Linked DNA regions of Homo sapiens: regions 1, 3 and 4 are each linked to region 2. Evidence: promoter capture Hi-C in human tissues and cell types (Jung and others, 2019). All regions are on one chromosome and are shown on one strand. The core of a region is centred on a gene start or on the middle of the fragment in contact, and the rest is flanking DNA. Distances in the headings are between cores, read along the strand shown. Region 1 overlaps ZNF547 (zinc finger protein 547). Region 2 holds the start of ZNF671 (zinc finger protein 671). Region 3 overlaps ZNF606 (zinc finger protein 606). Region 4 holds the start of ZSCAN1 (zinc finger and SCAN domain containing 1).

Region 1 (6,763 bases), core at 1-2,500, 360 kb before region 2:
GTAAGATCTTCCCATCGTTGCCCATTTCTCACGGTTTCCCTCTTCCTTCAGGGTCCCCTGGCGATGGCAGAAATGAACCCTGCACAGGTGAGTGGAGTGTTTTCTACCTTTCACCTACCAGTTATCTCATAGATGGTTTTGGCACCTCCATGTAAAGAAAAGTGGTGTCCAGAGACTCTCTTTCTGTCTTTCTCCCTCTCTTATGTCTGAAAAGTGAGTGATTCCACCAGTTCTAGTATCTTAAATTAGGTCTGGGATTTTTGTTTGATTGTTTTAAGTTTACTGTGACACCTTACCTGGATGGCCCTGGATTATGTGGAGTGGCTCCCATTTTTGACAGTTGACGTGGTAACATCTGTCAGAGTGTCATGGGCACAAGATTAAGAATGTTTCAGTGTTTAGAGGAGAGACTGAACTGGATTTTTAGGGAACTGCAAGTGTCTGTTATATCGGATAGGAATAGGGAGCAGAGTGGGAGGTGGCTAGAGACACACAAACATCAGGCCTGGAATGACAGCCTAGGTCCTGGGTCTCTAATCTAAGGGAGGTGGTAGATGGGGAAGATTTGAAGCAGAAGAGGGCAGTGATAGGACCCTAGCTTAAGGAACTTTCTTTGGCGTCTGAGTGGAGGACAGACTGTGGAGGTGAGGGTAATGGCAGGGAGATCTGAGAGGATGTTCCTGCAGCAGTCTAGGTGGATGTTGGTGGTGACTTGTCAAGAGTAGCGGTGGCTTCAGGATGTGTTTTGAACTGGAGCTGCCCACATTTTATGATGTAGAGAGTGAGGCAGCTGGGGGGGTGGGATAGAAGGGGAATCAGGAGTGGCCCCATGGTTTTTGTTTGGAAGCATAGATGCTCCATCAGCTAAGATGGGAGAAGTCAGCAGTATTAGGAATTTTCAGAGTGAGTGTGAGGAGTCAGTGTTTGTTCAAGCCACAGATGTCTCAGAGACTCCTGGTGGAGGAGTTCAGGTTGGAGACGTCCACACTATGGTGGCTGTCGTATGGACCAGGATGAAGCCATGGATTCAGTTTAGGTGACAGCATCTCTAGGTTATGGTGGCAGTGCTGTTCGAAGACAGAGAATTGGAATGGGGCATGAGAACTGGGTCTCTTACTGGGTAGCTGTGCAGTGGTGGAGGAGTCACTAGACAAATGAGGGAATGGAGTGTTTGTGGGGATGAGTGTATGTGAGATGGTGGGGTATAGGAGTGAGAAAGACTTCTGAAGGAGAGTGGACATGATGGGGTTGCTGAGGAGGGTAATAGGGTGAGGTCGGAGAGTTGCTAAGCATCAGTTGGAATGAGATGAGGATGGGAATTCTATTAGTCTGTTTTCATATTGCTACAAAGAACTACCTGAGACTGGGTACTTTATGAAGAAAAGAAGTTTAATTGACTCACAGTTCTTTTTTTTTTTTTTTTTTTTTTTTGAGATGTGGCCCAGGCTGGAGTGCAGTGGCACAATCTCGGCTCACTGCAATCTCTCCCTGCCAGGTTCAAGCGATTCTTCTGCCTCAGCCTCCTGAATAGCTGGGACGACAGACTCACCCCACTACGCCCAGCTAATTTTTGTATTTTTAGTAGAGATGGGCTTTCACCATGTTGGCCAGGATGGTCTTGATCTCCTGACCTCGTGATCCATCCTCCTCAGCCTCCCAAAGTGTTGGGATTACAGGCGTGAGCCACCGCACCCAGCCCATAGTTCTTCAGGCTTAACAGGAAGCATAACTCGGAGGCCTCAGGAAACTTACAATCCTGTGTCCATGAGGCAGGACACAGCTGAGAGTATGTGAAGTCCTCACATGGTTTGGGCACCTGACAGTGAAGTGAGAAACAGGGCCATGTAGGGAACCTTCAACCCAGGGCTTAGGGCTGCCCCCGGTGCTAGGGAACTTTGGTGTTCTGGGGCAGGACTGGGAGTGAATTGGATGCTGAGCGTATTTGCCGTGCACCACCTGGTTTCTGTGTGCAGAGTGGCCTGTTAGGAGGTGAAGGAAATGCCTGTGGTGTGGGCTGGGAGGTGTCTGTGGAATTGACTGGAGTGGAGGTGTGAGAGATGGGATTGGAGTGCTGTCCAAAGAGTGATGTGCAGGCAGGAGGAGTGTGAATGGAGGGCCTCAGGCCCTGGCCCTGGTAGCTCAAGGGAGGAGGATGAGTCTGAGTTTGGTTGTCTTGGGAGGCAAGATCTGGGTGACTCCATGGAAACTGGCTGGCAGGAGAGGATGGATCCCCCCACGGGAGGCCCACATTCCTTTTCTACCTTATCTTCCATCTGTTTCCTCTGTGTGCTGGACACGGTGGCCAATGTCAATATGGAGAGAAAAGTCACTCATGCCACCTGGATGTGGTTTCTCTTCCACATTGGGAGGGTGTAGAGATTGAGGAAGGAAAGGAGGTGTAGGGGAGAGGGATGAGTTCCTGGAGAGAGAAAAGTAGCAGTGATTGTACCCATTGGGGTTTTTTGTTTTTTTTTTTTTAGATGGAGTCTTGCTGTGTTGTCACCCAGGCTGGAGTGCAGTGGCATGATCTTGGCTCACTGCAACCTGCACCTCCTGGATTCAAGCAGTTCTGCCTCAATCTCCCAAGTAGCTAGGACTACAGGCATGTGCCGCCATGCCCACCTAATTTTTGTATTTTTAGTAGAGATGGGATTTCACTGTGTTGGCCAGGCTGGTCTTGAACTCCTGACCTCAGGTGATCTGCCCGCCTCAGCCTCCCAAAGTGCTGGGATTATAGGCATGAGCCACTGTGCCTGGCCCCCATGGAGTTTTAATTTATGGATGTGAGTGAGTGATGCCAGGGACAGGCCAATGACACTGAAAGAAGATATTTATTCCTTACGTTTCCCTAAGGAGGTTACATACCACATAACACAGGGCCACACGGTGAAACACCAGATTTGATCAGGAGGAAAATTGGAGTGAGTTTAGTTTAGTCCACAGATGCTGTTGGGGTTTCCAAGGGAAACAAGGCAGGGCTGGCTGTCAGGATAGTTTGGCTAGTTTTAGTAATTCCAGGACACCTGGGCTATTGGGACTGTCCCTAGTTGTGCAGTACCTGTCCCTGGGTTGATTTAGAGCATGGGAAATACTGACTTGGTTTGAGAAAGTTAGAGATGGAGATGGTTAAGAATATGTGCCCAGGATGGTAGGGGAGATGGAAACACATTTAGCTGTTAGTTTGTCCCTGTGTTTAATGGGTGGTAAATATAAGTAGAAAATAAATAGAGAACTTAAGTAAATACAGTTTGAAAAGCTGCTCATGTATTCATCTTTCCCAATTTGGCAGGGTCATGTGGTTTTTGAAGACGTGGCCATATATTTCTCCCAGGAGGAGTGGGGGCATCTCGATGAGGCTCAGAGATTGCTGTACCGTGATGTGATGCTGGAGAATTTGGCCCTTTTGTCCTCACTAGGTAAGGCCCTCACACTTGCCCAGTGTCCTGGGTTGGGCTGTGTTGTCTCCTTTTACCTGAAGGCAGCTCTGCGTTTCCCACAGTGAGACCATGGGTGCTGCTTCTTTTCCTTGTTTCCTGACATATGTTCCATGAGAGTCAGGACTGCAATATGTGCTGTGTGCTTCCTTTTTCCTGGCAGCCCCATCCTCTGCTGTTCTGAGGCTTGCAAGAAAGGGCTCAGGATCCAGAAATGTTGAAGGTGACATAGAGACCCACTGGCCCTGTGTTCTATTCAAATGCATGAGACCTCTGTGCTCTGTTGTTCCCTTGCTCTTGCCAATATTTCTTGGTCCCTTCTTGTTCCTGGAATTTCTGGCACTGACCTGATCACTAATTTGGTGAACCACTGGCTTGATTGTGTAGGATGTAGAAATCTTCTGTGAAGTTCTGGTGATTATCGAATGTGAGATATCATCAGGTGATCTCTCTGGGAATGTGCTGTCTTGTCTCTTTCTGTGTCTTTCCCCTAGGACTGGTCTCTTTCAGGTCTCACAGACTGTCACCTTAAGCAATGGGGAGGGCCCTGGTACCCAAGAGGGTGGATATTACTCCCTGAAGGGCTGTAGAGACTCAGAGGGACATGATCCTGGTTCCTGGGAGTTGGGAAAAGGTGTAATATCACAGCTGGGGTCATATTACTAGGAATCTGTCTGGTGACCCCTGTTGTTTAGTTGAAGACTGGTTGCCACAACTCACTCTTCTTTTCCTTCCCCCGTTGTCATTTTTACTCTGACTTCTAATCCCTGGCTTCCAGCCGTTACCTATTTTCTTCAACTGCTCCCTCTGCAGTGCCATCCACTGCATGACCTGTACTTAAGGTGAGGTCTGCATGTATTTGTCAGTAGTCCCTGAACACCATCTCCTCTGTCACAATCAGATCTCTCTGGGTTTAGACACAGCCTTCTACACACTGCTCACTAGTCACCAGCAGCCATGGCCTGTGGAAAGCCATTTGCAGAGAAGTGACTTGGAGACCCTCCTCCTCTCTGCACTGTACCCCTCTCTTGTGTTCTTACCCATCATCAGGGCTCTCCCATTATGGGTATTTGCCAGGTCCAACTCTGCACAGCAGGCCTTCTTCTCATTGGCCTTAGTGTTTGTATTACTTCATTCTCACTCTGCTATTAGGAAATACCCAAGACTGGGTAATTTCTAAAGGAAAGAGGTTAATTGACTCACAGGTCCCCATTGCTGGGGAGGCCTCAGGAAACTTACAGTCATGGCGGAAGGCAAAGGAGAACTAGGCATCTTCTTCACAGGGCGGCAAGACAAATGAGTCCAAGCAGGGAAAATGCCAGACACATAAAACCAGCAAATTTCATGAGAATTTACTCAGTTTCATGAGAACGGCATGGGGGAAACTGTTCCCATGATTCAGTTCTGTCCACCTGGTCCCACCCTTGACACGTGGGGATTATGGGGATTACAATTCAAGATGAGATTTGGGTGGGGACAGAGAGCCTAACCATATTATTCCACCCCGGCCCCCCCCACCCAATTTTATGTCCCTTCCACATTTCAACACCAATCATGCCTTCCTAACAGTCCTCCAAACTCTTAATTCACTCTAGCATTAACCCAAAAGTCCAAGTCCAAAGTCTCATCTGAGATGAGGCAAGTCCCTTCTGCCTATGAGCCTGTAAAATCAAAAGCAAGTTAGTTACTTCTAAGATATAATGGGGATAGAGGCACTGGATAAATGTACCTATTCCTAATGGAAGAAATGGGCCAAAACAAAGCCTACAGGCCCCATGCAAGTCCAAAACCCAGCGAGGCAGTCATTAAATCTTAATGCTCTGAAATGATATCCTCTGACTCCATCTCTCACATCCAGGGCACAGTGATGCAATAGGTGGGCTCCCACTGTCTTGGGCAACTCTGCCCCTGTGGCTTTGCAGGGTACAGACCCCCCCTCAGCTGCTTTCATGGGCTGGCATTGAGTGTCTCTGGCTTTTTCAGGCACACGTTGCAAGCTGTTGGTGGATCTACCATTCTGGGGACTGGAGGACGTGGCCTTCTTCTCATAGCTCCACTAGGTAGTACCCCAGTAGGGAGTCTGTGTGGGGGCTCCGACCCCACATTTCCCTTCCTGCAGTGCCCTAGCAGAGGTTCTCCGTGAGTTCCACCCCTGCAGCAAACCTCTGCCTGGACATCAGGCATTTCCATACCTCCTCTGAAATCTAGGTGGAGGTTCCCTCCCAAATATCAGTTCATGACTTCTTTGCACCCACAGGCCCAACACCATGTGCAAGCCACCAAGGCTTGGGGCTTAAACTCTGAAGCAATGGCTGGAGCTGTACCTTGCCCCTTTTAGCCATGGCTGGAGTTGAAGCAGCTGGGATGCAGGGCGCCATGTCCCGAGGCTGCATAGAGCAGGGGGACCCAGGGCCAGCAGCTGGGATGCAGGGCTCCATGTCCTGAGGCTGCACTGAACAGCCTGGGCCAGGCCCACAAAACCATTTTTCCCTCCTAGGCCTCTGGGCCTGTGATGGGAGGGGCTGCCGGGAAGGTCTCTGACAGGCACTGGAGACATTTTCCCCATCACCTTCGTGGTTAACATTCCACTCCTCGTTACTTATGCAAATTTCTGCAGCAGCCTTGAATTTCTCCCCAGAAAACGGGTTTTTCTTTTCTATTGCATAGCCAGGCTGCAAATTTTCCAAACTTTTCTGCCTTGCTTCCTCTTGAACACTTTAGCACTTAGACATTTCTTCTGCCAGATACCCTAAATCATCTCTCTCAAGTTCAAAGTTCCACAGATATGTAGGGCAGGGGCAAGAAGCTGCCATTCTCTTTGCTAAAGCATAGCAAGAGTCACCTTTACTCCAGTCCCCAACAAGTTCCTCATCTCCATCTAAGACCACCACAGCCTGGGCTTCATGGCCCATATTGCTAAATCAGCATTTTGATCAAAACCATTCATCAAGTCTCTAGGAAGTTCCAAACTTTCCCACATTTCCTGTCTTCTGCTGAGCCCTCCAAACTGTTCCAGCCTCTGCCTGTTACCCAGTTCCAAAGTCACTTCCACATTTTCGGGTATCCTTACAGCAGTATTTCACTACCTCAGTACCAGTTTACTATATTTGTCCGTTCTCACACTGCTATTAAGAAATACCCTGGCTGGGCACAGTGGCTCACTCCTGTAATCCCAGCACTTTGGGAGGCTGGGGCAGGTGGATCATCTGAGGTAGGAGTTTGAGACCAGCCTGGCCAATATGGTGAAACCCCATCTCTACTAAAAATACAAAAATTAGCCGGGTATGGTGGCAGGTGCCTGTAATCCTAGCTACTCGGGAGGCTGAAGC
Region 2 (6,473 bases), core at 2,044-4,543:
GCCAAAAGATTGGACACCCCTGATTTAAAGTGAGAGATGTGTAACTACTCCTTTAACTTGAACTCTTAGAGGCCACTGTAGGGTTATTAACTGACCTGATTTCAATATTGCTGTGTGTCAGGGAATAGGAACGCTTAAAGAGAGGGAGAAGGATGGGGATCAGCTGGTCAGTGAGGCAGTCAGAAGACACATAACAATTTTTTTTTTTTTTTTTAGACAGATTCTTGCACTGTTGCCCAGGCTGGAGTGCAGTGGCACGATCTTGGCTCACTGCAAGCTCCATCTCCCAGGTTCACACCATTCTCCTGCCTCAGCCTCCCGAGTAGCCGGGACTACAGGCGCCCACCACCATGCCCGGCTAATTTTTTGTATTTTCAGTAGAGACAAGGTTTCACCATGTTAGCCAGGATGGTCTTGATCTCCTGACCTCGTGATCCACCCGCCTCGGCCTCCCAAAGTGCTGGGATTACAGGTGTGAGCCACTGCGCCTGGCCGACTTTAGGCATTTGACACAGATCTCTAACTAACTTAATGCAGGCAGCAGGAGATAAATACCCATGCTCAGCTGCATCATGAAAACGGAAGAAACTGGAACACATTCAACACCCTCAACACATTCCAGCTACATCAAAAGAGTCTGGTTCCTACCTTCTGGCCTTAGGATAATGACAGAATGTAGTACATCCTAAGTTCCAGAGAGTTACCAAAAACAGAGACAGCATTCTGGACAAACACAAAGATTAGAGAAGCACCTTAAATCTTTGGCCAGATGGATTCGTGAGATCCTTCTACTACACTAGGCAAGACTGGGAGAAGTAGTGAACTTTTTTTTTTTTTTGAAATGGGGTCTCAGCCAAGCATGATGACTCACACCTGTAATCCCAGCACTTTGGGAGGCCGAGGCGGGTGGATCTCCTGAGGGCAGGAGTTCGAGACCAGCCTGGCCAACATCGTGAAACCCCGTCTCTACCAAAAATACAAACAAATTAGCTGGGCGTGGTGGCGGGTGCCTGTAATTCCAGCTACTCAGGAGGCAGACAAGAGAATTGCTTGAACCCAGAAGGCAGAGGTTGCGGTGAGCCGAGATTGTGCCACTGCACTCCAGCCTAGGAAACGTGGTGAAACCCCGTCTCTACTAAAAATGGAAAAATTAGCGGGGTGTGGTGGTGGGCACCTGTAATCCCAGCTACTCGGGAGGCTGAGGTAGGAGAACTGCTTGAACCCAGGAGACAGGTTGCAGTGAGCCGAGATCGCGCCACTGCACTCCAGCCTGGGTGACAAGAGCAAGACTCCATCTCAAAAAAACAAAACAAAACAAAACCTGGCCAAGGCATGGTGGCTCACTCTTGTAATCCCAGCACTTTGGGAGGCCGAAGGGAGTGGATCAACTGAGGTCACGAGTTTGAGACCAGCCTGGCCAACATGGTGAAACTCTATCTAATAAAATACAAAAATTAGCTGGGCATGGTGATGCATGCCTGTAATCCCAGCTACTGGGAAAACTGAGGCAGGAGAATCACTTGAATCTGGGAGGCAGAAGCTGCAGTGAGCCAAGATCGCACCATTGCACTCCAGCCTGGGTGACAGAGCGAGACTCGTCTCCAAAAAAAAAATAAATAAATAAAATAAAACCAAAGCCAAGTGCAGTGGCTCACAACTGTAATCCAAACACTTTGGAAGGCTGGGGCCGGTGGATCAGTTGAGGTCGGGAGTTCAAGACCACCTGGGCCAACACGGTGAACGTCCCCCCCACTCCCCCGCCCCCACCCCACCCCTCCCACCTCCCCACCCCACCCCACCCCTCCCACCTCCCCACCCCCGTCTCTACTATAAATACTAAAATTAGCCAGGGGTGGTTGTGGGCACCTGTAATCTCAACTACTTGGGAGGCTGAGGCGGGAGAATCTCTTGAACCCGGGAGGTAGAGGTTGCAATAAGCCACTGCATCCCACCCTGGGCGACAGAGTGAGACTTCGTCTCAAAAAAAATAAAAAAAATAAATAAACTAAAACTAAAAGAAAACACACAAAATGAGGGTGAGATAATCAGATAGTAGCAATAGCACACCACCCATCGTTGCCATCCCAGGCCAAACTCCTCATACCCTACAGCTCTCTCCTCCTGCAAACACTGAAAAGAACCCTTTCAAATGGCAGGACCCTTCTCTTCTGGGGGGAGTCTCAAGAATGCCCACTCCCTCTTCCCTGCCCTGCAGTCCCAGCCTTCTCATCTCTTACCCCAGAGATATGAAATAACATACTTAAGACTGCCCCACTTAAATCTGACCTCCTGGCCTTGACCTACTCCAGACCGCTCCCTTCACCCCAAAGATATTCTAAGCCCAGCCCCTTCCCCACAACTTCAGACCTTCCTCTCTAGTTGCCTAAGTGAGGAAGCCTCCACTCTGAGACATCTCAAAGTCACCATTCCAAAATCCAAACGTTCATGGAAAAACAACAAAAACACCTTGCTCTTTCATGCCTTACTTTCAGTCATAGCTGCATATGATGGAGCAGAAAATCCTGTTGGTTTCAAATTTAAAACCTACCCAGAATATGATCACTTCTACCCACTCACCTGCCATTACTCTTGGTACATCCACCACCAAAGCATTCCTGGAATCCACTGCAGTAGCCTCCTTACCGGTCTCCTCGTATCCATCCTCGCAGTCCCCACCCCAAACTAATGTTCTCCCCTGAGCAAATTTCGAGACACTTAAAATCCCAGCTAAGATCACGTCCTTCTATTCAAAACCCTCAGTTAATCTCAACGCCCTCAGAATGAAGCGACAACTTCTCAGCCTGCCATTCCAGTCACAGTTCCTCAAACTCTGCTCTGTGTTGATGAGAACCCTGTCTCCCAAATGTTTGGGGGTCAGCAGCACCCCCGAGCCTTTACCTGCGCCGTCCCCTCCGCCCGTAACTCTCCCACACCCACCCACACCGAGATAGGACCCCGCCCCAAGAGTGCGTCGCTGTCCTGGGACACAGGGGCTGCAGGCACTTTACGATTCGGAGTCGGAGAAAGGGTGACTGAGGGCCCGGAGGACGCAGCACCCACCCGCGCGGAGTCCGTTAGCTCCGCCATAGGACCGTGGGCGCGGACAGCTGCCGGGAGCGGCAGGCGTCTCGATCGGGGACGCAGGCACTTCCGTCCCTGCAGAGCATCAGACGCGTCTCGGGACACTGGGGACAACATCTCCTCCGCGCTTTCCCAACACCTCCACCTGCGGCCCACACAAGCGTTACAGAACCCCGGCCAGGGACAGCCTGACAGAAACAAAATGTCCGCTACAAGGAGGAGCCGGAAGTCCCGCCCACGCACCCCCCGCAGGCACTGAAACACCCCTCTCCTGGGCCCTCATTGGGTATGCAACGTATAGGTTTGTGGGTAGAGTGTGGTTCCCACTGAGCTATCCTTCAAGGCAGGGGATTCTCGGCCTGGGCTCTTGGGAAAACTCGAAGTAGGAGGGCCAAGTTGTTTGGGAAAAGTAACCCGAGTTTCAAAGGGCTGACAGGACTTCCGTCCTCTTTTTTTTTTTTTTTTTTTTTTTTGAGACAGAGTCTCGCTCTGTCTCCCAGGCTGCAGTGCAGTGGCGCGATCTCGGCTGACTGCAACCTCCGCCTCCCGGGTTCAAGCGATTCTCCTGCCTCAGCCTCCCAAGTAATTGGGACTACAGGGGCCCGCCACCACGCCAGGCTAATTTTAGTACTTTTAGCAGAGTACGGGATTTCACCATGTTGGCCAGGCTGGTCTCGAACTCCTGACTTTGTGATTTGCCTGCTTCGGCCTCCCAAAGTGCTGGGATTACAGGAGTGAGCCATGGTGCCCGGCTGACTTCTGTCCTCTTAAAAGGCCTGGACCTAGATTCCCTGGAGTGTAGTATGCACCGATCGCAGAAATGTTGAGACATTTCAGATGTTCCCCAAAGCTGCAAAACTAAATAGATACACCACACCACAATGTCTCTTTGCGTACACTCACAGCTAGAAGCTAATAACTATTACCTTGTTGCTTTTTAAATATGTGTGCACTCAAGCTTTACAGTAACTTTTGTGAGCTTCAGTTTGGTCAGAGACGGAAGAGAAAATATTCCAAACAAGGCCTTGGAGTGGAAGAAGGAAGAGGGATGATGTGGAGTCTCCCTGAAACCAGTGGACAGATTTCTTCAGAAAACTCTTCCTGCCTGGGTAATCAGTGATGTCTCCATCACAGCAAAACACAGTGCAATTACCATTTAACCTGTCATTGTCATTGTAAGTATGGTGTCTGTGTTAGGAGGTGAGATTATCCCCGGGGGAAAAATCCTGACAGCTATTAATAATGATTCCGTAGTTATTTGAAGATAATGAAAGAAATTGCTCTAAGGAAATATCTGTGATAGATGGACAAAGTTAAGATCTCAGTAAAGTTTGAGCCTGAATACTAAAGTATAAGTGAAAGAATGAAGTTAAGCATATGGTTGTGTTGTGATCTTGACCACACTTTGTCAACAAAATGTGACTCTTTTTTCCTGAAAATGCTGAGCAATTGTAAAGAAGATATCAGAATGGTAAAAATCAACAGTGAAGTTGTGCTGTCTTGATAATTCACTGTTAAAATACACATCCAAGGAACACATACGAGCTCTCAGTAGGTGTTTTTCAAATGTGTTAGTAGCATGAAAGACATCACTAATAAAATTTCCAAGATTCCTATACATACAGGACATGTCCTGCATATAATGATTTTTGTCCTGCATCACCTTTTGACTTTGTCACAATACCCTAAATAAATATTCTAAAGAAGGCAACAGTCTTAAAGAAAAGAATTTTCAACCCGGAATTTCATATCCAGCCAAACTAAGCTTCATAAGTGAAGGAGAAATAAAATACTTTACAGACAAGCAAATGCTGAGAGATTTTGTCACCACCAGGCCTGCCCTAAAAGAGCTCCTGAAGGAAGCACTAAACATGGAAAGGAACAACTGGTACCAGCCACTGCAAAAACATGCCAAATTGTAAAGACCATCAAGGCTAGGAAGAAACTGCATCAACTAATGAGCAAAATAACCAGCTAACATCATAATGACAGGATCAAATTCACACATAACAATACTAACCTTAAATGTAAATGGGCTCAATGCTCCAATTAAAAGGCACAGACTGGCAAATTGGATAAACAGTCAAGACCCATCTGTGTGCTGTATTCAGGAAACCCATCTCACATGCAGAGACACACATAGGCTCAAAATAAAGGGATGGAGGAAGATCTACCAAGCAAATGGAAAACAAAAAAAGGCAGGGGTTGCAATACTACTCTCGGATAAAACAGACTTTAAACCAACAAAGATCAAAAGAGACAAAGAAGGCCATTACATAATGGTAAAGGGATCAATTCAACAAGAAGAACTAACTATCCTAAATATATATGCACCCAATACGGGAGCACCCAGATTCATAAAGCGAGTCCTTAGTGACCTACAAAGAGACTTAAACTCCCACACAATAATAATGGGAGACTTTAACACCCCACTGTCAACATTAGACGGATCAACAAGACAGAAAGTTAACAAGGATATCGAGGAATTGAACTCAGCTCTGCACCAAGCGGACCTAATAGACATCTACAGAACTCTCCACCCCAAATCAACAGAATATACATTTTTTTTCAGCACCACACTACACCTATTCCAAAATTGACCACATAGTTGGAAGTAAAGCACTCCTCCGCAAATGTAAAAGAACAGAAATTATAACAAACTGTCTCTCAGACCACAGTGCAATCAAACTAGAACTCAGGATTAAGAAACTCATTCAAAACCACTTAACTACATGGAAACTGAACAACCTGCTCCTGAATGACTACTAGGTACATAACGAAATGAAGGCAGAAATAAAGATGTTCTTTGAAACCAACGATAACAAAGACACAACATACCACAATCCTGGGACACGTCCAAAGCAGTGTGTAGAGGGAAATTTATAGCACTAAATGCCCACCAGAGAAAGCAGGAAAGATCTAAAATTGACACCCTAACATCCAATTAAAAGAACTAGAGAAGCAAGAGCAAACACATTCAAAAGCTAGCAGAAGGCAAGAAATAACTAAGATCAGAGCAGAACTGAAGGAAATAGAGACACAAAAAACCCTTCAAAAAATCAATGAATCCAGGAGCTGGTTTTTTGAAAAGATCAACAAAATTGATAGACCACTAGCACGACTAATAAAGAAGAAAAGAGAGAAGAATCAAATAGATGCAATAAAAAAAGACAAAGGGGATAACAGCACCCATCCCACAGAAATACAAACTACCATCAGAGAATACTATAAACACCTCTACGCAAATAAACTAGAAAATCTAGAAGAAATGGACAAATTCCTCGACACATACACTCTCCCAAGACTAAACCAGGAAGAAGTTGAATCTCTGAATAGACCAGGCTCTGAAATTGAGGCAATAATTAATAGCTTACCAACCAAAAAAAGTCCAG
Region 3 (6,908 bases), core at 4,075-6,574, 260 kb after region 2:
ATAAAGGATGAGAAATAAAAGATATTCTCATATTCTTTGTAATTATACTGGTTTTCTCCAACATGAAGCCTTGGGTGTTCATTAAATGATGGGCTCTGGTTAAAGATTTGATGGCATTCCTTATATTCATAGAGTTTTTCTCCTGTGTGAATTCCTTTATGATCACCAAAATGTATTATATGATTGAAAGATTTAACAGCATCAGTACATTTGAAAAGATTATCTCCAGTTTGTATTCTTGCAGGGTAAATAGGTTGAATGGACTGATAAACAGTTTTGTCATAATCATTATTTTCACAGGTAACCTTATCTGCATACATTATGGCTGAGTCACATCTCCAACTTTGAGCATGTGTATCAGGCTTATAGAAATGTTCTATCTGAGAAACTCTCTGAGATGGAACAAAGTTTAAGTTCTGGCTAAACTCTGCCCCAAGTCCACAGAATTCAGAGCTTCTCTGGGATAGTACTTGCTTTTGCATGAAGACCATCTGCCTCATAGCTGTACTCTGGTTCATGTGGTACATTTCTAATTGGTCTTTACATCCCAAAACTTCTAACCTGGAGAACCAAGGATCATCCCATATATATCTTTCCAACTTCATGCCATGGGATTGTTCTTCCTCAAAAATGCTCTGTGCTGGGATCAATGCTTTGCTTTCAAGATTTCTCACCCATTCTGAAACAGACAGAAAAAAAGCTATGAGAGCATAGAGAAAGACATTAGAATAAAGTGGGAATGGTGAGATTTACTGTCCATATTATCAAAAACACTAGTATAAATTTGTTTTCAAGTCCAGGCTTAGAACTCAGAGAAAGATCATAATAGGGAAAAGAATAGTGAAAAGTAAACAACAGTTAACCAGAATACAAAGTGTGTACTGAAAACTAATGAAACCATTTAAAAGTACTTTCCATGAAAAGGAAGACCAGTATAAGAATGTGCAAGAAAGAGGCCGGACGAGGTGGCTACGCCTGTAATCCCAGCACTTTGGGAGGCCGAGGCGGGCGGATCATGAGGTCAGGAGATCAAGACCATCCTGGCTAACACAGTGAAACCCTGTCTCTACTAAAAATACAAAAAATTAGCCAGGTGTGGTGGCGGGTGCCTGTAGTCCCAGCTGCTCAGGAGGCTGAGGCAGGAGAATGGCATGAACCCGGGAGGCAGAGCTTGCAGTGAGCCAAGATCGCGCCACTGCACTTCAGCCTGAGCGACAGAGCGATACACCGTCTCAAAAAAAAAAAAAAAAAAAATGTGCAAGAAAGAGTTAACTCTGCAGGCCTGACGTGCTCAAACCTTGCAAAGGTAGCCTGTTTCCTAACTGGCCCTTAGCCAACTCCTAGGAATTAAGATCTTGGAATGTTCTAACTAGTAAGAGTGTTTTGCATGCTCAAGGTATTGAAGCACATTTACTTTTAACTTATTTAGATATGTGTGCAAACAATGTCATTCATAGTGATCACCTGCTTTCCCTCAGGGTGGTCTGGAGTTTCAGCGATGGCAGTGAGTCACGCAGGCACTGTGTGCCTGGATGAGCAACCTCTCAATAAACACACTGGACTCCTAGACTCAGGCAAGTTTCCTAGTAGAAATTTCGCACGTGTTGTCACAACTCCTTGCTTGAGGAATTAAGTGTGCCCCATGTACGCTACTGGAAGCTTGCACCTGGTCTAACCTCATGCACCTTTTTCCTTTGCTGATGTTGCTTTGTATCCTTTCACTGTAATACACCATAATCCTGAGTATAATGACTTTTGAGTCCTATAAGTACTCATAGTGAATCAGTGAACCTGGAGGTGGTCTTGAAGACCCCTGACAAAAGGACCCAGTGAATGTTATTAAGGTTAAAAAAGAAAAAAAAAGAATAAAGCCTTTCATCTTAACAAAAGTTAGGTAGATGAGCACACAAGGCCTTTAGCAAGTAATATTTACATCATGAGTGCTCTCACTTCTGTGTTATAATGTCCTTCTACTCCCATATCTTGACAAGTGCAGAAAAAAGGAGGAGAGGGGTGTTTAGAGAGTATCACCAAGCGAGGCTTCAAGCCAGGATGTTATCTATGACAAAATGCTTTGTTTCCTATGTCACAGAATCCAGTCAATCACACAAGATCCACCAACCCAAAGGGCAAACATCACCAGAGTTTATGGATACCCCTAAAGTTACACTTCTATCCACCACAGAATATTTTTAGAGCAATGATAGATGGACTAGGAAGACAGCATAGTGTGAAAAAACAGACACAGGAGTTACAGTCTGCTAATCTGTATGTGAACAATGGCCCTGCTGCTATCCTTAGAGAGCTTTTCTGATGACTAAAGTCGAGACTCAGAATCCAGCCAAACTCCTGGCAAGTTTAATACACAGGAACTGCCTATTATCACTGCTTAAGTATCAATCCTCTAACAACCAAAGGAGGCTATATTAGTTTCTTTCTGCTATTGTAACAAATTACCACACATTTAGTAACTTAAGGTAACACAAATTTATGATCTTTCCGTTCTGGAAGTCAGAAGTCCAAAACGGCTTTCACTGGGCTAAAATGGAGTTATTGGCCGGGTTGTGCTCCCTCCAGAAGCTCTAAGGAATCCACCATATCCTTGCCCTTTCCATCTTCTAGAAGCTGCCCCAATTCCTTGGCTCGCAGCTCCTTCCTCCATCTGCAAAGCTCATCACTCCAACCTCTGCTTCTGTCATCACATCCTCTCCCATGTCTCTGACCCTCCCACCACAATCTTATAAAAGGACCCTTGTGAGTACATTTAGAATCCACTCAGACAATCCAGGATAATCTCCCCACAGCAAGATCCTTAATTTACTCTCATCTGAAGGTCCCTTTTGCCATACAAGGTGCCCCATTCACAAATTCTGGAGATTAGGATGCAGATATCTTTGTGGGGGAAGTCATTATCCAGATTGCTACAGGGTCTAAAGCCCCAGGCAGGTCCCAACAAGAACTAGACCTTGCCCTCTCTCTCTGCTTCTTTTTTTCTCTTTACTATATGTAATTTCCCCCCTTTTACCACCCAAGTCCATTATTTTTTGTTTAATTTTTTTGAGACAGGGTCTCACTCAGGCAGGAGTGCAGTGGTACCGTCATAGCTCACTGTAATCTCAAATTACTGGGCTCAGGCAATCCTCCCACCTCAGCCTTCCGAGTAACAGGACTACAGGCATGAATCCTGTATATACAACCATGCCTGGCTAAATGTTTTTAAATTTTTTATAGTGACAGGGTCCCGCCATGTTGCCCAGGATGGTCTCAAATTCCTGGGCTCAAATAATCCTCCCACCTTGGCCTCCCAAAGCACTGGGATTACAAATGTGAACCCCCATCCCTGGCCCCCACGACCATTATAACAGAGGTTCTACTCTGCACAACTGGCATTTATTATCAATTTCAAGCTCAGCTCTTAAAAGTTACTGAATTATCTTCATATAGATTTTTAAATCCTTCCAGTAAAAGCTTTTTACAAATGGAAGCTGACCAATTCCCTGACCAAATGAAAGACCAACTGAAAGACCAAATGAACAGTTCTTGTCCAACTTTATACTCACTCAGTACTTGTAGTCTACTGAGTTTCCAGCACCAGAGACAAGGCAAGAAAGTACGGTCTCCCTGGAAGTCAGAATCTATGTGAAGAGAGATCCTACCAAACAGTGATGAATATACATGAAATATCACTCTGAGGTCGGGCATGGTAGCTCACGCCTGTAATCCCAGCACTTTGGGAAGCTGAGGCGGGTGGATTACCTGAGGTCAGGAGTTCAGGACCAGCCTGGCCAGCATGGTGAAACCCCGTCTCTACTAAAAAAATACAAAAAATTAGCCGGGCATAGTGGCAGGCGCTTGTAATGCCAGCTACTCGGGAGGCTGAGACAGGAGAATTGCTTGAACCCGGGAGGTGGAGGTTGCAGTGAGCCAAGACCACACCATTGCACTCCAGCCTGGGCAACAAGGGCAAAACTCCGTCTCAAAAAAAAAAAAAGAAAAGAAAAAGAAATATCACTCTGAGATGGTGGGGTTATAGAACAGATGCTAAGTGGGTGGGAGATCAAAAAAGGACATCAGCACTAACTGAAGTGATCGAGGATGGTTCACACAAGAGAAACAACATGAGCTCAGCCTTGAAGCACGACCTGGGTACAGACTGACTAGTCACTCAGCATGAGCAGAGGCATGCATGGCGTGACCAGTGTGTGAGGAGGAAGATAAGGATACCTGCTGAATAAAACTCCAGGAGCTATTCAGGAAATGAGAGAAACAATAGAAAAAATAGAAGGTTTTGAAATCCAGTTGTTTTGTTACAAGGCAATTAGAATCACTGTAGGTTTACTGACAGGGATCTCATAATCAAAGATTTCAGGGATATAAATCTAGAAATAGTACCTGAGGTGGCTAATAACAAGTGAGAATTTCCTCATCAACTTGGGCTGGAATTTTACGAGAAAGGGGCCGGACTGTGAGAGTGATGATGGAAGCTGAATGACGTAACTAACATTTCAGAGGAAGAAAATCTTGGGAGTTAGAAGAGAGATTACTTCTTGGAGAGGAAAGAGCTCGAAGTCAAGATGACTTCTCAATCTCCAGCTTAGGGGACATGCAGAAATGCACCTCAGGAAGATGGGAGAACATCTAGAAAGTAGAGACAAGATTACTGGTTCTATCGGCTGTGATCAAGGAGACAGGTGAGATGCTTTGTAAAATGGGAGAAGTGTAAGGACAGAGGTGCTGGAATTGCAGGGCTCTGGATGGTAACTAAGAATGGGCAGCACTGAAGGTAGAAGAATTAAAGCTCCTGGAATTCATGAGCTCTTAGGGGAAAGTTTCCAATCTGAATGGAAAACAACTGGAGAGATTCTCCACAAAAGTCCCCTCCATTAGAGTGGGTGGAAGATAATCCAACTTCAGGACTCAAGAAGAGGCTGTGGCACATTGCCAAAAATAATAAGATAAAGACAATGTGTATAATCTCCTATTGTTGAAAACATGAAAAATAACTACAAATTCCTACATGCTTGTAGCTGCATAAAGAAACTCTGTTATGCATGTAACAGAAATTACTAAAAGTGATTACCTGAGGCAGAATGTCAGTGAAAATGGCCAAGTAAAGACATGTAAAATTTCACCACTCTGTAAAACCAACTAAAAAACTGGCAAAACTGTCAGAAGGCAATTTTTCAAAATTCTGTAAATTAACCAAAGCCTAGGCCAGGCGCAGTGGCTCATGCCTGTAATCCCAGCACTTTGGGAGGCTGAGGCGGACGGATCACGAGGTCAGGAGATCAAGACCATCCTGGCTAACATGGTGAAACCCCAACTCTACTAAAAATACATAAAAATTAGCCAGGCGTGGTGTCGGGCGCCTGTAGTCCCACCTACTAGGGGGGCTGAGGCAGCAGAATGGCGTGACCCTGGGAGGCGGAGCTTGCAGTGAGCTGAGATCATGCCACTGCACTTGAGCCTGGGCGACAGAGCGAGACTCCATCTCAGAACAAAAACAAAAACAACAACAACAACAAAAACACAAAAAAACAAAATTAACCAAAGCCTTGCAGCAACCAGGAAAACATGTATTCTAGAAAAGTAAATTTTAATAAGAACAGTAAGCTATATGGTGTTCTAACTTACCCCGGTCCCATCTCTGGCTCAGTAACAGCCTTGGAAAAATGACAGCCCCCACTTCTGGTACTTCAGTGAGCAGAACAAAGCTGGAGCTTTTTCAAAGCCTCATTCTCAAAGAACACTCATTACTAGACCTGCCTAGTGGCTCCCTGGAAGACTCCACTGGAAAAGCTGGTCTTTATTTTGCCTGACAGAGAACTCTCATAGTGTTACAAAACCTCTAGGGAGGAGGTACTTTTCTAACATTTACAGGCAATGTTTTAAAGTCACCACTGCCTGAGGTGATGGCAAACAGGTGGGGCCCAAAACACACGAGTCAAAAAGATAGAATGAAAGAGCTGAGGAATGAGATGTCTATAGGGACTCTGAGAAGCTCCAACCTAGAAGGCTACATGCATACCCATAATAATTAAACTAGGGCCAGGGGTGGTGGCTCACGCCTGTAATCCCAGCACTTTGGGAGGGCGAGGTGGGTGGATCATGAGGTCAAGAGATTGAGACCACCCTGGCTAACACGGTGAAACCTGCCTCTACTAAAAATACAAAAAAAAAAAAATTAGCTGGGCGTGGTGGCGGGCCCCTGTAATCCTAGCTACACAGGAGGCTGAGGCAGGACAATCGCTTGAACCCAGGAGGCAGAGGCTGCAGTGAGCCAAGATCGCGCCACTGCACTCCAGCCTGGGCGACAGAGCAAGAGTCTGTCTCAATAAATAAATAAATAAAATAAAATAAAAGCCGAAGAGAGAATCCTGAAAGCAGAGAGAAGAAATTCATCACGTACAAGGGATCTTCAATAAGATTAACAGCTTGTTTCTCAGAAACGACTCAGGCCAGAAAGAAAGACAAAAAAACATGACAATCAAGAATTCTATACCCAGTAAAATTATCCTTCAAAAATGAAGGAGAAATCAAGAGATTTCCAGATAAACAAAACGCCACAGTTCACTGTTAGCAAACCTGTCCGACAGGAAATGCTGGCTGGGGATAGTGACTCACGCCTGTAATCCCAGCACTTTGAGAGGCTGAGGCAGGGGCATCACTTGAGCTCAGGAGTTTAAGACCAGCCTAGGCAACACAGTGAGGCGTGGTTGTGTGCACCTATAGTCCCAGCTACTCAGGAGGCTGAGATGGGAGGATCACTTGAGCCTAGAAGGTTGAGACTCCAGTAAGCCAAGATCATGCCACTGCACTCCAGCCTGGGCAACAGAGTGTCTTTTCTATCTCAAAAAACAAAATGGAAATGCTAAAATGAGTTCCTCAGGCTGAAATGAAAGAACATT
Region 4 (6,123 bases), core at 3,204-5,703, 310 kb after region 2:
TGACTCCCTAACATAGTGCTTACAACCCCAGGAGATGCGGCTGTGAGGCAGGAAAATAGAGGGAATTGGAGGTTAAATAAAGGGCAAACTGAGTAAAAGCAGAAGCAAGGTGAAGGGACAGGTAAGCAAAAAGCAAAATATGGGCAGGTGCAGTGGCTCATGCCATAATCCCAGCATATTGGGAGGCGGGGGCAGGCAGATCACCCGAGGTCAGGAGTTCAAGACCAGCCTGGCCAACATGGTGAAACCTCATCTCTACTAAAAATACAAAAATTAGCCAGGCATAGTAGCACACGCCTGTAGTCCCAGCTACTCAGGAGGCTGAGGCAGGAAAATGACTTGAAGCTGGGAGGTGGAGGTTGCTGTGAGCCGAGATCACCCCACTGCACTCTAGCCTGGGCAACACAGCAAGACTCCATCTCAGAAAAAAAAAAAAAAAAAAAATTCCAGACCTTATCACTTTGGAGAAAATACCACACTAAAAAGTGAACTGAGGAGGCTGGGCGTGGTGGCTAACGCCTGTAATCCCAGCGCTCTGAGAGGCCGAGGCGGGCGGATCACGAGGTCAAGAGATCGAGACCATCCTGGCCAGCATGGTGAAATCCCATCTCTACTAAAAATACAAAAATTAGCTGGGCGTGGTGGCACATGCCTGTAGTCCCAGCTACTTGGGAGGTTGAGGCAGGAGAATTGCTTGAACCTGGGAGGCAGAGGTTGCAGTGAGCCAAGGTCGTGCCACTGTACTCTAGCCTGGGTGACAGAGCAAGACTTAGTCTCCAAAACAAACAAACAAACAAACAAAACAACAACAACAACAACAAAAAACCTCACCACGTTCTTGATTTGTGTGTCCCTGATCACTAACTAGTCAGATGGGACTTTTCTTCACATTGGTTAGCCCCATGTATGTAAGAGGGTAGTATCTTTCTAAGCTTGGGGTAGGCTTGGTGAGCTTTTTTTTTCCTTTTTTATCTTTTTTCTTTTCAGAGATGAGGTCTCACTCTGTCGCCCAGGCTGGCAAACTCCTGGGATCAAGCAATCCTCCCACCTCAGCCTCCCAAGTAGCTGGGACTACAGGCATGTGCCACCATGCCAGGCTAATGTTTAAATTTTTTGTAGAGATGGGGCCCAGTTCCATCTGGAGTTGATTTTTGAGTGTAAGGGGGTGACATTCGGTCTTCCTTAGAAAGGTTCAAAGAGGGGTCCTTCAAACTGGGATTCTAGGTCTTCTCCCATAGCTTCAACTCAAACAGTTCTGCATTTTTTTTTAGACATGAGGTCTCACTCTGTCACCCAGGCTGGAGTGCAGTGGCAATGCATCATAGCTCACTGCAGCCTTGAACTCCTGAGCTCAAGTCATCCTCCTGACTCAGCCTCCCGAGGAGCTGAGACTACAGAAATAGCCACCATGCCTGGCTGATTTTTCTATTTTTTTGTAGAGACGGGGTTTCGCCATGTTGCCCAGGCTGGTCTCAAACTCCCGGGTTTAAGGGATCCTCCCACCTTGGCCCCACAAAATGCTGGGATTACAGGTGTGAGCCATTGCACCTGGCCAAAATAACATTTTTATTGAGATATAATTCACACAGCATAAAATTCACCCTTCTTTTTTTTTTTTTTTTTTTTTTGAAATGGAGTCTCACTCTGTCGCCCAGTCTGGAGTGCAATGGCACAATCTCCACCCACTCACCCACTGCAACCTCTGCCTCCCAGGTTCAAGCAATTTGCTTGCCTCAGCCTCCAGAGTAGCTGGGATTACAGGTACCCACCACCATGCTCAGCTAATTTTTTAAATTTTTTGGTAAAGACGGGGTTTCACTATGTTGGCCAGGCTGGTCTTGAACTCCTGACCTCAAGTGATCTGCCCACCTCAGCCTCCCAAAGTGCTTGGATTACAGACGTGAGTGACTGTACCCAGCCGAACCTTTTACAGTTCAGTAGTTTTTGGTACATTCTCCAGATTGTGCGATCATCACTGGAATCTAATTCCAGCATCTTTTCATCGCCCCCAAAAGAATTCCCCTTGCCCCTTCTTCTAGCCCCTGGCACCCATAACAGTTCTGCTTTTAGCTGATTTACTTTTAATTGGGATTTCGAGTAAGATTTAATTTGGGACAAAGATTTCTACTGCTTAAAAAAATTTTGGTCCGGGTACGGTGGCTCATGCCTGTAATCCCAGCACTTTAGGAGGCCGAGGCAGGTGGATCACCTGAGGTCAGGAGTTCAAGACCAGCCTGGCCAACATGGTAAAACCCCGTCTCTACTAAAAATACAAAAAAATTAGCTGAATGTGGTGGTGGGCACCTGTAATCTCAGCTACTCTGGAGGCTTAGGCAGGAGAATCACTTGAACCCGAGAGGTGGAGGTTGCAGTGAGCCAAGATCACGCCTTTGCACTCCAGCCTGGGCAACAAGAGCAAGACTCTTTTTAAAAAAAACAAAACAAACAAACAAAAAAAAACTGAAACCTCTGCTAGACACCAGGCTGCCTCCCAATGGATCTAGAGTTACCAGGTGGCCTATGATGGTGTCTAGATCCAGACTCTAGAGACAGACTAAGTCAGTGTTCTCTCAAGGGAGATTTCCCAAATGGGTGGCAGTTATAAATGCACACATGAGCCTTCACTGCCCCAAAGGGCCACGCCAATTTCAGCTACCAAGAAAATGAACCATGTCATTACAAGTGCCTAATTTTCAAGAAGGAGAATAATAAGCCCTTAGCACCCTAATTTGGTTTTCCCATAGTGGTTTCTGCACAAAGTGGCATTCACACACAACATTCCAGGGACCAGCCGCCAGCAGCAAAGATGCGGAGACACGGCTCTGATTATCCAGCTGAGGCAGCCCCTCCCCTCCCTGCCACTCCTGGGACTCTTAATCTCCAGGCCTCGTTTTATTTTATTCTAGGTATTTATATTTCCATGAAGCATCTGCTTTGTTTACTGGTGTTTGCCCCATGAACATGGGCTTCCAAGGGACTAAAGCCCTATCAGTCCCTCTCACTGATGTGCTCCCACCCCAGTGTCCAGAACAGTGCCTGGTACACATAGGCCCTCAATAAACAGCTGTCCAGCAGATGCTGGACCCCCTGGAGGTGGGTCCTCCTCTCTTTTCTTAGCTCACACTCTCCTGCTTCTTCTTCAGCAATGAGCAGCTTCAGCTATCCTGAGCTCAGTCCCAGAGCTGAGGACCCTCCTTGCATCATGATCTCACCCCCACCTGATTTCAGATACAAAACGAGTATCTGTGGAACCCTACTATTCTGGCACATGGTTACATTGTAGACATTAATATTAAAACTTATTTATATGAAATGTTCTTATGTAAGGTTTCGTTAAAGTATATGAAATATAGGACACATTGATACTAATTCCTTGTTTTTCTTTTTCTTTCTTTCTTTTTTTTTTTTTTTTTTTTTTTTTGAGACAGAGTCTCACTCTGTTGCCCAGGCAAGGCTGGAGTGCGTTGGCAGGTCTCGGCTCACTGCAACCTCGGCTTCCCCAGTTCCAGCGATTCTCCTACCTCAGCCTCCCGAGTAGCTGGGATTACAGGCACGCACCACCATGCCTGGCTAATTTTTGTATTTTTAGTAGAGACGGGGTTTCACCATGTTGGCCAGGCTGGTCTGAAACACCCGACCTCAGGTGATCCGCCTGCCTCGGCCTCCCGAGTTCTGGGATTACAGGCGTGAGCTATCGCGCCCGGCCTCCTTGTTTTTCTTGAGTTTACATATAACTGAGGTTTCTTTTTTCTTTCTTTTTTTTGGGGGTGGGGGGACGGAGTCTCGCTCTGTCACCCACGCTGGAAAACTGGAGTGCAATGGAGCAATCTCGGCTCACTGCAACCTCCGCCTCCCCGGTTCCAGTGATTCTCCTGTCTCAGCCTCCTGAGAAACTGGGATTACAGGCATGCGCCACCACGCCCAGGTAATTTTTGTATTTTTAGTAGAGACGGGGGTTTCACCATATTGGTCAGGCTGGTCTCGAACTCATGACCTCGTGATCCGCCTGCCTTGGCCTCCCAAAGTGCTGGGATTACAGGCGTGTCACCGCGCCCGGCCGACGTCCTGTATTTTTATTTGCTAAGAGTGGCGATCCTAGTCTGGGACATACTTGTACTAAACATATTTATATTAAAAACAATGTTTTAACATACTACTCTTGGACACTGTATAAAACGGTTGCGTGTCTGGAATGCCGTCGTTTTGCCCCGCGGCCCCATCGTACATGCGCATCCCCGCAGCCGCCACCGTCTCCACTTTCCGCAGCAGCGTCCCTGACGCTGCGCGACCCGTTGCCAAGGCGACTGGAACCGCGGCCCGAGGTAACTGGAGGGCACGGCGGGGGCGGGGCGCTCATCCCAGGCGGCTTCTGATTGGCCTCGGCCGCCTCGTGCGTCACAGCCCCGCCCCTGCCCGGGAGTCCCGCAGCGGTGACTTGTCACCGACGCCCGGCGTGATCCAGCGGACCAATGGCGGCCGCCCGCGGCGCGCAGGGTGCGGGGATGGGGTCCGCCCGCGGCGTTGGGCGCGCTCGCCAGCCCAGGGGTCGCCATGACCGAGTGGCCCAGGCCCGAGCGAAGCCCGCGCGCGGTGAGTCCGCCGCGGCCCATCCGTCCCTCCGCCCGCCAGAGCGTCCATCGGGACGCCCACCCGGGAGGGTCTCGGCGCCGCGTCGGCGGGAGCTGGCCCGGGATCGCGGTCCAGGGGCGCGCGTCGGGGGAGGCGGGCCCGGGCCCGGGAGGGGGCGGGCCGGGCCGGGGTTCCAGAGCCCATCGGGAGTCCTGAGGTCGCCGTAGGGGAGGGAAGGGGAAGGCTAGAGGCCACGCGGGGCGGGGACTGGGGGGGCTGGGGCCGCCCCTTCCGCAGGGACCCCGACCCCTGTTGGCATCCGCCTGTCCGTTTGAGGCCGAAGCCCCTCTACGTACCCCCATTGCCCGCCCAAACACCGCTCGGCCGCGTCCAAGTTCTCCCTTCCACACCTGATCAGCATCCCGGGACCTATCTCCCTCCTGAACAGCCGCCCCCGGACCCATCTCCCTCCCTACCCGGCCCCTTGGGCCCATCCCCCACTGGAACAGCAGCCCCCGACCCGTCTCTCTCCCTACAAGCTCCCCCTCCCCGCCCCAGGCCCATCTCCCTCCTGAACAGCCGCCCCCGACCCATCCCCCACCCAATCACCCCACCATCCTCCCCCCAACCAGCCGTCCACAGCCGTCGTCGCTGCCCCTCCCCTGTATTCCCAGTGCGCTGCCCTTGCACACTTCCCCAGCTCGTTTATTATGGAACTCCTCCGTGTGGCATCCTAAGCTCCCAACGCCCTCCCCACTGTAAGCCCCCTTCTCAAAGCCAGAACCATTCACTGACTGGCGCAGTGAACACGTCTTCTATGTCACTAAGCATCCGGCATCAGCGGCAAAGCCCTTCTGCCCATCCCCGCAATAGAATTTGGGGCTCGGGCTGCAGATCTCAGTGCCCATGCCAGGTGAACCTGGCCCTTCCACAGGCACTGAGCCCTCCAAGTGACACTCTCTCACACACACACATCCCCAACATTAATCAGAGACCCCTACCAAAGTAGACTTCTAGGACCCCAGGGCCACCACAGCATTGCCCATGGGGGGGCCCAGATCCTCCTCACCAGCCATGTAGACCTCAGTCCCCTTCACATCATCCCAGGCCCTCTTCATCTTCCAGAAACAGCCACCCATCAGTCCAGGACTCTCATCAGCTCAGGTACCCCCACATTGGCCTAGGTGTTCCACATCAGCCCCCATATAGACCCCAGACACACCCATGGACCTCTGGTGCCTTCTGCTAAGACCTCCTCTTTACCCTCATCCCTGATAAACTTAGCATCTCCTCCCACAGACCTCAGCCCAGGACCCTGGAGGATGCTGAGGGGCTACAGCCCCCCTCCCTAGAGTCTCCAGGGTGAGCTGCCATGAGCACCTGAGAGAGTATAAGGTCTGAGGCCCCAGGGCAAAGGGATTTCTTGAACCTGTGGAGCTTCAAAATAGGCCCTTTTTTCTTATTCAAAACTACATATATAAAAGTGTGAATACAACATAAGAGAGCATTTTTGCCTGTGGCCTTGGCAGGGAAGACCAAGCTGGTAGTTTCCCA

The links. Contacts are between HindIII fragments. The study calls those that stand out against the background at their distance.
Region 1: a contact is called between a fragment that was not itself captured here and the fragment with the promoter of ZNF671 in region 2, in 1 of the 25 tissues and cell types used here (dorsolateral prefrontal cortex).
Region 3: a fragment that was not itself captured here is called in contact with the fragment with the promoter of ZNF671 in region 2 in 1 of the 25 tissues and cell types used here (dorsolateral prefrontal cortex).
Region 4: a contact is called between the fragment with the promoter of ZSCAN1 here and the fragment with the promoter of ZNF671 in region 2, in 2 of the 25 tissues and cell types used here (adrenal gland and psoas muscle).

Annotation. Positions count from the first base shown.
Region 1 is chr19:57,368,493-57,375,255 of GRCh38, forward strand. ZNF547 (zinc finger protein 547) reads left to right here. Exons shown (of 4, transcript NM_173631.4): 2 at 52-87; 3 at 3,290-3,416. The coding sequence starts at 64. Among named protein-coding and RNA genes, the nearest start is that of ZNF547, 8.3 kb to the left of the region's middle. The HindIII fragment of the contact is 8,803 bases long and covers 1-5,652 here.
Region 2 is chr19:57,724,331-57,730,803 of GRCh38, forward strand. It overlaps ZNF671 (zinc finger protein 671), which reads right to left and starts at 3,294. Exons shown (of 4, transcript NM_024833.3): 1 at 3,061-3,294. The coding sequence starts at 3,198. RefSeq lists enhancers at 2,993-3,493, 3,011-3,450, 3,591-3,640 and a silencer at 3,447-3,672. The HindIII fragment of the contact is 7,784 bases long and covers 1-4,442 here.
Region 3 is chr19:57,979,601-57,986,508 of GRCh38, forward strand. ZNF606 (zinc finger protein 606) reads right to left here. Exons shown (of 7, transcript NM_001348022.3): 7 at 1-679. Among named protein-coding and RNA genes, the nearest start is that of C19orf18, 8.5 kb to the left of the region's middle. The HindIII fragment of the contact is 5,523 bases long and covers 2,564-6,908 here.
Region 4 is chr19:58,029,572-58,035,694 of GRCh38, forward strand. It overlaps ZSCAN1 (zinc finger and SCAN domain containing 1), which reads left to right and starts at 4,454. Exons shown (of 6, transcript NM_182572.4): 1 at 4,454-4,590. The HindIII fragment of the contact is 19,074 bases long and covers 1-6,123 here.